Regions from separate parts of the Homo sapiens genome. Here regions 1 and 3 are each linked to region 2. The links are contacts of gene promoters, found by promoter capture Hi-C in blood cells and fetal thymus (Javierre and others, 2016). All regions are on one chromosome and are shown on one strand. The core of a region is centred on a gene start or on the middle of the fragment in contact, and the rest is flanking DNA. Distances in the headings are between cores, read along the strand shown.

The links. Contacts are between HindIII fragments. The CHiCAGO score rates a contact against its expected background, and 5 or more counts as called.
Region 1: a fragment that was not itself captured here is called in contact with the fragment with the promoter of AKIRIN2 in region 2 in 2 of 17 cell types (naive B cells and total B cells); the score reaches 7.7 in naive B cells.
Region 3: a fragment that was not itself captured here is called in contact with the fragment with the promoter of AKIRIN2 in region 2 in 5 of 17 cell types (total B cells, total CD4 T cells, naive B cells and 2 more); the score reaches 6.3 in total B cells.

The regions. Positions count from the first base shown.
Region 1 is chr6:88,781,771-88,786,069 of GRCh38, forward strand. All of the region lies in intron 12 of RNGTT (RNA guanylyltransferase and 5'-phosphatase), which reads right to left. Among named protein-coding and RNA genes, the nearest start is that of RNGTT, 180 kb to the right of the region's middle. The HindIII fragment of the contact is 4,619 bases long and covers 238-4,299 here.
Region 2 is chr6:87,700,602-87,704,862 of GRCh38, forward strand. It overlaps AKIRIN2 (akirin 2), which reads right to left and starts at 1,632. Exons shown (of 5, transcript NM_018064.4): 1 at 849-1,632. The coding sequence starts at 1,083. RefSeq lists silencers at 804-1,013, 1,194-1,363 and enhancers at 1,524-1,583, 1,894-2,203. The HindIII fragment of the contact is 11,354 bases long and covers 1-4,261 here.
Region 3 is chr6:88,858,247-88,862,195 of GRCh38, forward strand. The region is part of intron 8 of RNGTT (RNA guanylyltransferase and 5'-phosphatase); the gene reads right to left. Among named protein-coding and RNA genes, the nearest start is that of RNGTT, 100 kb to the right of the region's middle. The HindIII fragment of the contact is 4,031 bases long and covers 1-3,702 here.

The DNA of each region.
Region 1 (4,299 bases), core at 1,297-3,796, 1.1 Mb after region 2:
ATCTCCATTCTGATTTCCATTTCTGATTAACATAATGCTCCTAACCAGAAAGGTTCAAAACTCTCGAATCATCTTTGATGCGATCTCTACCAATTCCATATTCCACCAATTATCTCTATTACTTTTTCACCCAGGCTATTGTGATCAACCTAACTGTTATCCCTATTATCAACAGGCCCTATCAAATACAACTGATCCTGAATCCATCTGGTTAGATGGTTTACTGAAAATAATACAAGCTTCTCAACCTAACAACCAAAGACCACCTCCCCGTGCCCACTTACCTAGCCTTATTCATCCTCTCTAGTTTTATCCCCTACTATGCCCTTTACACAGAATAATTAAGGCAGCAATAACTTCTAAGGGCTAACATCGACTGAGTTTTTCACTTTTCACCAGTTACTGGTTTGAGTGTTCTTAAATCACTTTATTCTCAAAATAGCTCCATGAGGTAGTTCAATCTAACATAGTACCCTTTTCTCATGGATCACAAAACAGAGTCATAAAGAAATTGGTAGAAAAGATATTTGAACCCAAGTATTTTATTCCAGATTCCAAAATATATACTAACTACCACATTGTACGGGGTGAATGGAAAGACAAAAAGGTGCACACCATACACAAAAATCAACTCAAATGGATTAAACATTTAAACACAAAAGTGGAAACTGTAAAACTCCTAGAAGTAAACAAAGAAAAACTTCTTGACACTGGTCTTGGCAACTATTTTCTGGATATAACACCAAAAGCACAGGCAACAGAAGCAAAAATAGACAAGTGGGACTATATCAAACTAAAAACCTTCTGCACAGCAAAAGAAACAATGAACAAAGTGAAAGGTCACCTATGAAATGAGAAAAAATAATCTTCAAACTATACATCCACAGGGGTTAATATCCAATATATAAAATCATACAACTCAATATTAAAAATACAAATAACCTGTTAAAAATGGGTAAGGGCCCTGAATAGACACTTCTCAAAATAAGAAACGTAGATGGCCAACAGACCTATTGAAAAGCTGCTCAGCATTTCTAATCAGCAGGGAAATGCAAATCAAAACCTCAATAAGACAGCACTTCACATTTACGAGGATGCCTATTATCAAAAAGGCAAGAAATAACAAGTGTTGTCAAGGATATGGAGAAAAGTGAACCCTTGTATACTTCGGTGAGAATGTAAATTGGTACAGCCCATTAGTGAAAACAGTATTGAGGTTCCTCAAAAAATTAAAGACAGAACCACCCTATGATTCAGCAATCCCACCTCTGAGTATGTATCTGGAAGTATTGAAAACAGGATCATGAAGAGATATCTGCTCTCTCCCATTCACTGCAGCTTTATGCACAATAGCGAAGATATGGAAGCAACTTAAATGCCCTGCGATGGATGAATGGTTAAAGAAAACGTGGTGTACATATAACAGAATATTATTCAGCCTTACCCCCAGAAAAGTAATTTATGCCATTTGTGGTAACGTGGATGGAGCTGGAGAGCACTGTACTAAGCAAAAATAAGCCAGAAAGAGAAATACTGCATGATCTCACTTATACATGGAATCTCAATTAGTCAAACTCATAGAAGCAGAGATTAGGATGGTGGCTGCCTGGAAACGGAAGGAACTAGAAATGGGATGATGCTGGTCAAAGGGTACAAAAATGGCAGGTAGACAGAGATATCAGATGTTAATTAGCTGGAATGTAGTGATTATTTCACAATGTATATCAAAACATCAAGCTGTATGCCCTAAATACATACAATTTCTATACGTCAAAAAAGTTAAATTGTCACAAAATATAGAATTTAAAGAAAAAAGACAAAATGGTTAAGATATCTGTTCAAGTATATTCAAAAGCCCTATACATTTATAAATCTATAAATCTAAGACAATATGGAGAAAGCAAAGAAATCCACAGTCTAAAGCAGGGTTCTTTAACAGCAATACTACTGACATTGGGGCAGTTGACTCTTTGTTGTGGGGGCTGTTCCGTGCAATGTAGGAGGTTTAACAGCATCCCTGGCCTCTATGGGCCAATCAAAATAATAAAAAATGTCCCCACATACTGTCAAATGTTATTTGGGAAGTAAAATCATGCCAGTTGAGAATCACTGATCTAAAGTATGCATTCATTCTTTTTTTTTAAACCAGTACCTATTGATCAACTGCTAAGCCTGTGTCAACCTCTGTGCTAGAGGACAGTAAGATAAAGATAATGGGGGTTTCAGACAAATAATAAGCAGTTACAAAAAACTGTGAAGAATTTAATGAAAGATGAAGTTCAGAGTGCTATAATAGCTGAGAAAATGAAATGTAACACAGTCAAAAAGATAAAAACAAATTTCCCAGGGGAAGTAAAATTTAAGCTGAGAATTATACAGGCAATAAGGATGAGTTAAGTAGCTACAAGAGAAAGTACAGTGAATCTGAGCAGCAGACATTCAGATTGCCCACACGTACAGCACAGTACTTAATATTCACCCTACTGCTACAAGCACTAAAAATATCACTGTGAATGAGACAGAGATGGTCTCTGTCTTCATGGTACTTACAATCTAGTAAGAGAAATGGTAATGTTTAAATAACTAAAAATTAATACACGTTAAGTGCTTTGAGGCCAATGGGAATACTGTGGAGGCACAGGGGAGAGTCATGCTCACCTATACAACCAGGCTTCCTCAAGGAAGCACATCTAACTTGATAGTTGAAGGATAAATGGGAGTAATATAGAAAAGAAAATAGTTTCAGGCAGAAGAAATAGCATGTATAAATACATATTCTTTAGAGACTATTTCAGTTTGTAGCTCTTACAGAATGAATTGGTCTGTCAGTAGAAAGAGCTACTAAAGTTATCACTGAACTTGGACAACAAAAGGAAAATCAATTTTCTGACCCTACATAGACAAAATGTGTGCTTTTAAATATTTCCTTCTAAAATGTGGAATTGCTATAAGCATAAGGGATAAGAAATATCAATTAATAAACCCTATCTTTTTGCTATGATTCCAATATGTCTCCCTAGATGCCTAAATCAGAGCGCTAACAAAATAGACATTAAAAATATACCCGGACAAATTCTGAAAAGCAAAGTGTAAAATAATATGCTATCTTTTTAAAAAAGTGGAATGAAAATAAGAATGTATTCACACATTTGTATTTGCTTCTATATATATAAAGAAACTGGGAAGAAGTATGAGAGGGAAATTTTCTTCTATGTATTTTTTAAATACATGTTAAAATTTCTGAACCACGTGATTGTATTATCTGGTTTAAAAATTAAAATTATACCACTGTAAAATGACAATTTTAAAAATCTACCATTAATGTTTCAACATTAAACATAAGTTATTAATAAAAAGAACTATCCCTAATTCATTAAGTGTTTAATATGTATCATTTATATGAGAACTGATTTGGTATTCTGTATATTTACCCTCTAGGAATTCACCGCTTCTTTCATTTTTGTGAAGTCCTTATTTATATTTATTTCCCCTTTCTCTGCTACCAATATATCATCATTAGCAATTCCTTTTAGTTGTACAGATATATCTATATCTAGCTGAGACTGATTACAAATTATGCATCTGTAGCTGTTTATTTTGCCAACAAAATTCAAAAAAAAGTAAATATTTATTTTAAAAACTTGAAAATGATGTTTTGCTTTTTCTTCCTTACACAAAGCAAGCTAAGAATATTTTGCTGTGCTCTAAAAGATGAACAAGGAAAAAAAAATAAAATAAGGTATATTTTCTTTCTTGGCACTTTGCTATTACAATTCCTTGGAAAATTATATTTTTCAATAAAAGTAACACATTTTGAGAAAAGATAGAATGACACTTTTGCAGCCTGCCAGAAAACAGAGCCCTTCTTCAAATGAAGACCTATCAAAATATGCAAGCAAATGTCATGGAAACAGAAGCTCTCACCATGGTAACATCCTTGCTACAGAGGAAAACCATTCTAATTTGTCATGTACTTCAAGACAAGGCATTAGGCTAATTCCAATTTTCATTTTACAATCTATCCATAACATTCAATATACCTGGCAGTAGTAAAGATTTAATAAAAATATTAATATTTCAAAAGAATGCAATATTAAAATCAAAGCTGACTCTAAATTTCTATGCAAACTGATGAATACCAGATACATAAAATCAAGCTGAACCACCTTATAGGAAAATCAAAATAGTGATGAAAACATTAAAAAACAATTATATCTCTACTACTTGAAAGTAAATAACTCTAGACTCAATAGAAACAATTATGTTTTACTAACCATAGTAGAGTTAGTGGGTACAACA
Region 2 (4,261 bases), core at 382-2,881:
AAAAGCAAAAGTCTGAAGTCCCTTGGAATCTTGGGTTGATTTCTTCATTATTCTCAAGGCTAGGTTGTTTTCCCCCAGCATACTTTGTTGGGCAAAAATAAAACATTTCCAAATAAAAGCAACTCCTCAGCCCCAATTTTCAATGCAATATGCTTATTAAAAGTTCAACATTTCTCAAGGTCTAGACTTATAGTGTGATCATATTACAGTACTCGGGAAGAGCATTTTCTTTGTTGTTGACCCTGCTAGGGAAACAGGTCTTGACTCAGCCAAAGTGGCGTTCTTGTGGGTGATTAATGACAGGCCTAGATCTCGCCCTAGTGACATCCATCCCCCACCCCCCACCCCCACTATACTAAAATCAGCCGTGTCTGAACTGAAGGAGGGGCTGTAGCCTCGCCTCAAACCACCCAGTCCCAGAGTTAATAGCTGCAACCAATCGATTACGGCAAGCACACATCCAGATTGGGGTGAAATGTGACCCTTTCGCCTAAATTTACGAATAATATCGTCCTCTCTGATCATTTCCGCTGGGGCTCCAGCGACTACGGAAACAATTCCAATCATTCGGCCCAAAGAAAAAGATGTCCCTGTTCTACCCAATACGGGCAAGGCAAAGCCCCTACCCACCTCCAAACACTATCCCCTTGACATCAGCCCATTTCTATTGTGTCTTATTAGGTCCTCGGGCTACGAGGACCTAGTGAAAAACGTGGCTGCCCTACTACTTTGCTAAGAACAAGAACCACACAGTCCGGCACCCCCACCCCAGGGGCCGCATCCCACACCCCAGGACCCCTGTTCCCAGTTCTCTCCACTACCCCGGCGGCCGCGGGGCCGGGTCCCACCTGTGGTGAGGCGGGAGGAGACGTCGCCGAAGGGGGATGGCTCCATTCGGAGATACTTCTGCGGCGAGGCGGCCGCAGCGGAGAAGGAGGCGGCGGTGGCCGCGGCCGCCGACAACGGGGAGGCAGCGGCCGAGGTGGGCGCCGACAATGGCGCACATCGCCTGCGCTTCGGGGACGCCGGGCTCAACAGCGGGTCGAAATCCAGAGTCCTTTTCAGAGTGGCTCCGCACGCCATGGCCGGGGGCAGCTGAGGCGCCGGGCTCGGGTGGGGTCGGGGACGGGTGACGAAAGAAGAGGGTGAGGGAAGGGGTGAAGAGCGGGAACTCGAGGAGAGCCTACCCGACGGGCTCAGGAGCCAAGCGGGTCGCGGAGCGCCGGCTGTGGAAAGGAGAGCCGCTGCCGCCGCTGCCTCCGCGGCAGGGGCAGTGGCCAGGGACGGCCCGGGTGAGAGCGGGAGGGGCGGTGGCGGGCAGAAGCACACGCCAGTCGCGTCAGGGGGGTTCTTCCGCCTCCTCAGGCGCGGCTCCCCCGAGAGAGGCTCCGGCCGCCCCCGCCGTCCGCTCGAGCTTTGCGCCGCGCCTGAGGCGCTTCTGTGCTGAGACTAGATCCTTTCTGAAGTCGAAAACAGCACCGTGGGGTGTGAGGCTGGAACGCGGCTCCTAATACGCCCGAGTACGGTCAGTAGCTTGCGAGCGGCGATCGATGCAGAGAGATTGCGAGGTAGCTGCCGCAGCAGGAACCCAAGCGAACACGTCCAACCGCTTCCCCTCCCTCGTAGAACTCTCCCACCCGCCGCCGGCCCCAATATGGCGTCAATAACAACGCCGCCGATTCAAATCCGGCGGCCTCAGAGCGCTTGCGCACGGGGGCGGGCCAAACCGGGGATGCATTTTGGGAGTTGTAGTTTTTAGGTACCGGGAGGAATCGGCTTGAAAGGCGGGAAGGGAGGAGTCACAGAAACTACGACTTCCGTCATGCAAGGCGCGCGATTCCGAGTTCCGGGTTGGAATTTAAATCCCCCTACACAGCTTGAGTGTAAGAGGAACTAAGCAAAAGAGAAAAAAAGAGAAGGTTCTGAGACAGTGGGAGATGGGAAAGCGAACCCGTGGCAAAAGCAGGCTAAGCGACATAGAAATCTTTTAAGATTCTCCGTATAGTTGCTCCCACAGTGATTTCAGATCTGGGAAATATAATAAACCAATCTCTAGTCAAAGTTAGCTTAATTTCGGTAGCGACAGTACCCAAAACAAGACCTTTCACATGGAGAGGATAGGAGATAATGAGATTATGAAACCTATTTAGGACTGGCAGACAGAACAACAGTAATAGTATCAGGTTACAGGATCCTTGATTCAACTCGATGCTCTACCCTTCGGAGGTAGCTGCTTCATCCACTAATGAAATTCTGTAAAGCCAGCTTTGCTTCTGTAAATGAATAGGACTTGAACGACTTACAGAATCAAATTGTTTTGCGTTGGGTAAAAAGCAAGTGGTATCAGACATTGCATTACTTCTGTTGAATATTGGTGCATATATTGTGAACTTTGTTACAAAACTAATCAAAAGACAGTGAAATGTTTAGGTAATAGATATTGGATGGATCCATTTTGTAAGCGGAAGGGGAAAAAAGTGTTTCTAGAAGTTGTACTTTTAGTCACATACCTAAAATAAGAATCAAATACAGCGCTAATTTAGAAAGTGATCTGTGTAGCCGGGCATGGTGACTCACGCCTGTTATCCCAGCACTTTGGGAGGCCGAGGCAGGCGGATCTTCCTGAGGTCAGGAGTTCGAGACCAGCCTGGTCAAAATGGTGAAACCCCGTCTCTACTAAAAATACAAAATTAGCCGAGCGTGGTGGCGCGCGCCTGTAGTCGCAGCTACTCGGGAGGCTAAGACAGGAGAATCATTTGAACCCGGGAGGCGAAGGTTGCAGTGAGCCGAGATGTTGCCACTGCACTCCAGCCTGGGTGATAGAGCGAGTCTCTGTCTGAAAAAAATGAAAAGAAAAGAAAATGATGCCGGGCGCGGTGGCTAACGCCTGTAATCCCAGCACTGGGAGGCCGAGGCAGGCGGATCACGAGGTCAGGAGTTCGAGACCAGCCTGTTCAACATGGTGATACCCTGTCTCTACTAAAAATAAAAAAAATTAGCCGGGCGTGGTGGCGCACACCTATAGTCCCAGCTACTCAGGAGGCTGAGGCAGAAGAATCGCTTGAACCCGGGAGGCGGAGGTTGCAGTGAGCCAAGATCAAGCTACTGCACTCCAGCCTGGGTGACAGAGCTAGACTTCGTCTCAAAAAAAAAAAAAAAAAAAAAAAGTGATATATGTAGAAACTATCACCAGTGCAATATGAAACAATTTTGTGAATGCCAACTGTCAAATGATTATAAATACTGATTTCCAGTGCTCATGTATTCTTCTTTATTCAGTAACAGATGTTTTATAGCCATTTTGTCTATTATTTTTAAACCATATTTAGAAGTAGTTCAATATATTCTTTTTTATAGACAATTTTATAGAATTGTCCAGTGCTTCAGAGATCAGCAGTCCTGATCACACTGTGTCAACAAGTAAGCCCTTCTAGTTTTAATTTAGGATATTTGGAAATATCCTACATTTCCTACATTTGGAAAATCTTTTGAAAAAGATAAGCATTTAATGAAACAGCAGCTTAACTAAGACACCTACTAGGTAAATTTCTAGTAAATTCTAAACACTTGGTAATATTTTCTGAAATTAAGATTTGCCCATAAGTTATAAAACCTACATTTGAAATGTGATGTTGTGAGTTAAATTCCCTATGTTTGAGGGAATTCAAGGACTTCAAAATTCATATGAAGTCCTAACCTCCAGTACCTTAGAATATGACTTTACTTAGGAATAGGATTATTTCAAATGTAATTAGCTAAATGTAGTAGGATGGGCCCCTAATCCAATATGACTGGTATTCTTATACAAAAAAGGAAATTTGGGCCAGGTGCGGTGGCTCACACCTGTAATCCCAGCACTTTGGAAGGCCGAGGTGGGAGGATCACTTGAGGCCAGGAGTTTGAGGCTAGCCTGGGCAATGATAAGAAACCTCATCTCTACAAAAATTTTTAAAAAATTAACTAGGCATGGTGGTGGTCACCTGTGGTCCCAGCTACTCGGGGCAGCTGAGGTGAGAGGATTGCATGAGCCCAGAAGGTTGAGGCTGCAGTAAGCTGTAATCACACCACCACACTCCGGCCAGGGTGTCATAGCCAGACCCTGTCTCAAAAAAAAAAAAAAAAAAAAGAAAAGAAAAAAAGGCCAGGGTGAAGGGGAGACTGGGTGGGGGTGGGAATTTGAACCCAGGCATGGGCCCAAGGGAATTTTGACCCACATGAACATGAACATGAAAATAGAGATTAGGGTGATGCTTCTACAAGC
Region 3 (3,949 bases), core at 437-2,936, 1.2 Mb after region 2:
AAATATAAGTTAAAGGGCCGACCTGGAGCCAGTCTAGATGCTAGGCAGTACTAGATGCTAGGGTTATAACAGCAAATGGCACAGACTCTCTTCTCAACTTCACATCATTTACACTCTTAAAAAGAAAACAAGATATTAAATAATTCCAACCATAATACATATTAGAACAGTGAAGAAGAAGCTATTACAGGAGCCTACAAAGGTAGAGCCTGTCAGAGTTTGGAGATCATGGAAGGCATTCCAGAGGAATTCATGCATAGCTGATAATAACAACAGGTTACACTTACTGAGCAATTACTATGTTCTGAAGAAAAGAGCACTTTTATTAACTCATTTATTAACTCATTTAATCCTTACAACAACCTCACCAGGTCAGTAAAATTATTATCCCCATTTTCCAGATGAGGAAACTGAGACATTGCCCAATGTCATAACGCTGACACAACGGCAACGCTGATATTAAAATTTAGACAATAGTTTGTTTGTACACCCTCTACAGTATACTAACCCTCACATTCAATATGTAGGAGTCAACCCAGCACAGGTTGTAATGTGAGAGAAGAAGAGAAATGAGGGATGGGAGGGTTGGAGTACACAGACTAGTAGGTGCAATGTCCTTCAGACAAGATAGAATGCAGCAATGTTCTGGTAACTAAAAAAGGTTCAGAATACTCAAGTGTAAAGAGAAAGCAGGAAAATGGTATGAAATGAGACTAAAGAAGTAACAGACAAATAGGAATTATGAAAACTTTTTTTTTTTTCTGAGACAGGATCTCACTCTGTCACCCAGGCTGGAGTGCAGTGGTGTGAACATAGCTCACTGCAGCCTCAAACTCCTGGGCTCAAGCAATCCTCCCACCTCAGCCTCCAAAAGTGCTGGGATTACCGGCATAAGTCACCGTACTCAGTCTGAAAATCTGTTTAATCCCCCCACCCCCAGCTACTAGTTATTTTAACTTTTTTTTTTAACTTTATCTTAGAAAACAAAAAACTACTTGTATGAGACAAACAGAAACCATAATGCAGAATTCAAACCCAGGAGATATATATAATACAGCACATTGGTTACAAAGATACTGGAAAGCTGAGAACATAGAACAGGAAGGCTGAAATAACTCAGAGATTAATAGTTGCAGGAAGCACTATGACCCGCAGGACTAGGGGAACAAAATGAAAGAGGTCTGTTATTGAAAAGCTAGGAGCTTGGAAGAAAAGCATTATAGGGCTATGCCTGGAAGAAGGTGAAAGAGGTCCATGTGGCAGAATGCTCTAACCTCTAAGGAGGTGGCCACAAATGGCCCTGTAGCTTAAGTTTGAATCCCTATGAACAGGTGTCCAATAGAGGATGGTCAAACCACTAAGGGAATAAAGTCCAGCAGGTTAGGAAGTGATACAAGTGGCACTCTATCTACCTAGGATGCCTTGCCCAGAAGCTGGTATCTCTGAGAGGAAACAGCAAGACTGGTGCAGAGAGTGACAAAAGAAGTTGGAGAATGGAGTAATAGTTGTCCTTTGCTATTGGAGGTGTCCTTACAGAAACTGGGAATAAGAGTAGTCCCTTCTCTCACCTTCCAAATTCCTGCCTGTGCTCCCAGTGGTAAAACTTAACACGAAGTAAGCTGGCAAGGGAGTCTGGGAAATGTAGGTTGCAAAGTCCCAGCCCCTAACACAGAATAAAAGGGTGGACTCGAACTGAGAGATGGGAGGTAAATAAATGCAGACCACTAAAATGTTTTAAGCAAACTAATGACATAATCTCACCTGCATTTTTAAAAGTTCATCACCACATAATGTATACCCCAACAGAATAGGGGTCAATCTGTAGACAAGAGAAATTATAAGGCCTCTGTAATAGACCATGTGAGAAATCACAGTGACTACGACAGTAGTAACAATAATTTTAGAGATAAATAGATAAACTCAAGATATTCAAGTTGCAGACTGACAGTAATTCAATATGCTATTTACTGGATATGTGACTGAGAAAATGAGAGAAGTTCCAAGTTCTGGCTTCAGGAACTGGGCATATTTACTGAGCCATGGGGCATTTAAGAAGGAAGCAGTAATTGTCCCATTTTGTTTGGAAGAAACGATGGACACCATGAGTTTAGATGGAAACCAAAGGCCCAGATTTTCCCTACCCCTAGCAGGCTGGAAATAGGCTCAGGATCTAGACCAGACTATCCATGTTCCTTTCCCAAAACTTTTAACTTGAGTGACAGAGAGGCACAAGAATAGTTGCAGAATTATTTATAGCAACAGCAAAGACATTGTCAGCAAGTGCTAATGGTGGCTTCCTAATCAAAGTGTTCCTGTGCCCTGACCTTGGCTCTGGTCCTTGCTGCTGGCTTCCCTTGATTCCTATCCATTTTCCAAAAGTGGTTCTCCTTATTTATTCCGTTGCATAAATTAGCCAAAGTTGATTTCTATTGCTTACAGTCAAGAAGGCTAAGCATAGTGATACACGTCTGTAATCCTAGCACTCTGGGAGGCCAAAGCGGAGAATCACTTGAGGCCAGGAGTTCAAGACTAGCCTGGCCAAGATAGTGAGACCACATCTCTATTTTTTTTTTAACTTAAAAAAAAAAAAAACATGTTAATGGGTTTTTTGTTGTTGTTGTTTTTGCCTCAATATATACAGCTAAATGTAAGGAGGTTTAATGTGCCTATGATGAAATCCCACTGTAATGTCCCTAACATATCCTTAATACCAAGGGTTACATAATACTAGCCCTTTACCTGGTAACTTCATGCCAAGAGACACACCATCTATTTACCATCCTTCAACATAGACAAGTGTATAATGCTAATTCTAGAGTTTACTTTCTCTGTACATCTTTTCTCTCATAAGAATTCACTACCAAACCTCTGCTATTTCTATACAAGCTACCTTTCTTCTCATTTTTATTCCCAATAGAATTGGCACAGAAGTCCCTGAAAGCTAATTCTCAATGTTGTATTAGTATACAGAAATAAATTCAAGTATACTAAAATTTCTTATAAAGAAAATTCAGACCACTTTCCCAGACAGAATATATAAACCTTCCTCACATAGGAGCAGTTGGTCACACCATGCCCCCTACTCACCAACACCTGTCATGTGTTCAAAAAACAATACAAGAACAGCTGACTTGCCAAACTCCAACTTTCTTCCTTCCCCATGGGGCTCATGCACACTTTGCCTGTTTCTCTCATTACCTCACTGCTCAGTAAATTCTGCCTCTGATAACCTCTTTTGCAAGATATACCCATGTCTTCTTTAACCCATTTTTTCCTGTTTCTTTCAACTCTTTTTTTTAAATAAGAAATCTTAAGTATATTTTACAACTTTTTAAAAAGAAAAAACGTATTTCTCCTTCTCACCTCCTTTAACTTAGTTCCATTCATGAACCAACGAAAACTCTGATCAAAGCTAGTGACACTTCTGTATAAAGCAAAATTTAAAGTAATAAGTTGTTTAATCCATCTAGACAATAAAGAATCAGTGTCAAAACCCCTTTCACAACCTCCTTATATAATAGTCTCTATCTCCTTATCTTATAAAATCCAGTTTTCCCCAAAGTTTTTAAATTATTCAAAATAGTTTTCATAAACTTCTTATGTTACAATGGCAGTTTGCTTAATTACCAGTGTTGAAACAGTACATTTTGTCATTTTTCATAGTATATATACATAATAAGTAATTTAGCTACCTTAGGAATAAGCTTTAGAGGCTAGTTTAGGCACCTAATTATGATTTATACTATAATTCCATAGAAATACAATCTAAACTTAATGAATCTCAGAAAAAGACCAGATAATTTAAACATCATTTGTTTGCATCTGTGATATTGTGAAATATACATATATTTGTTCTTCAACCGTTTCCTGGCATACAAATCCTAAAATCCTCAGAAACACCAAAATGATGCTTTCTTGTATATTAATGAGTTGACTGATGGTTGGCAGC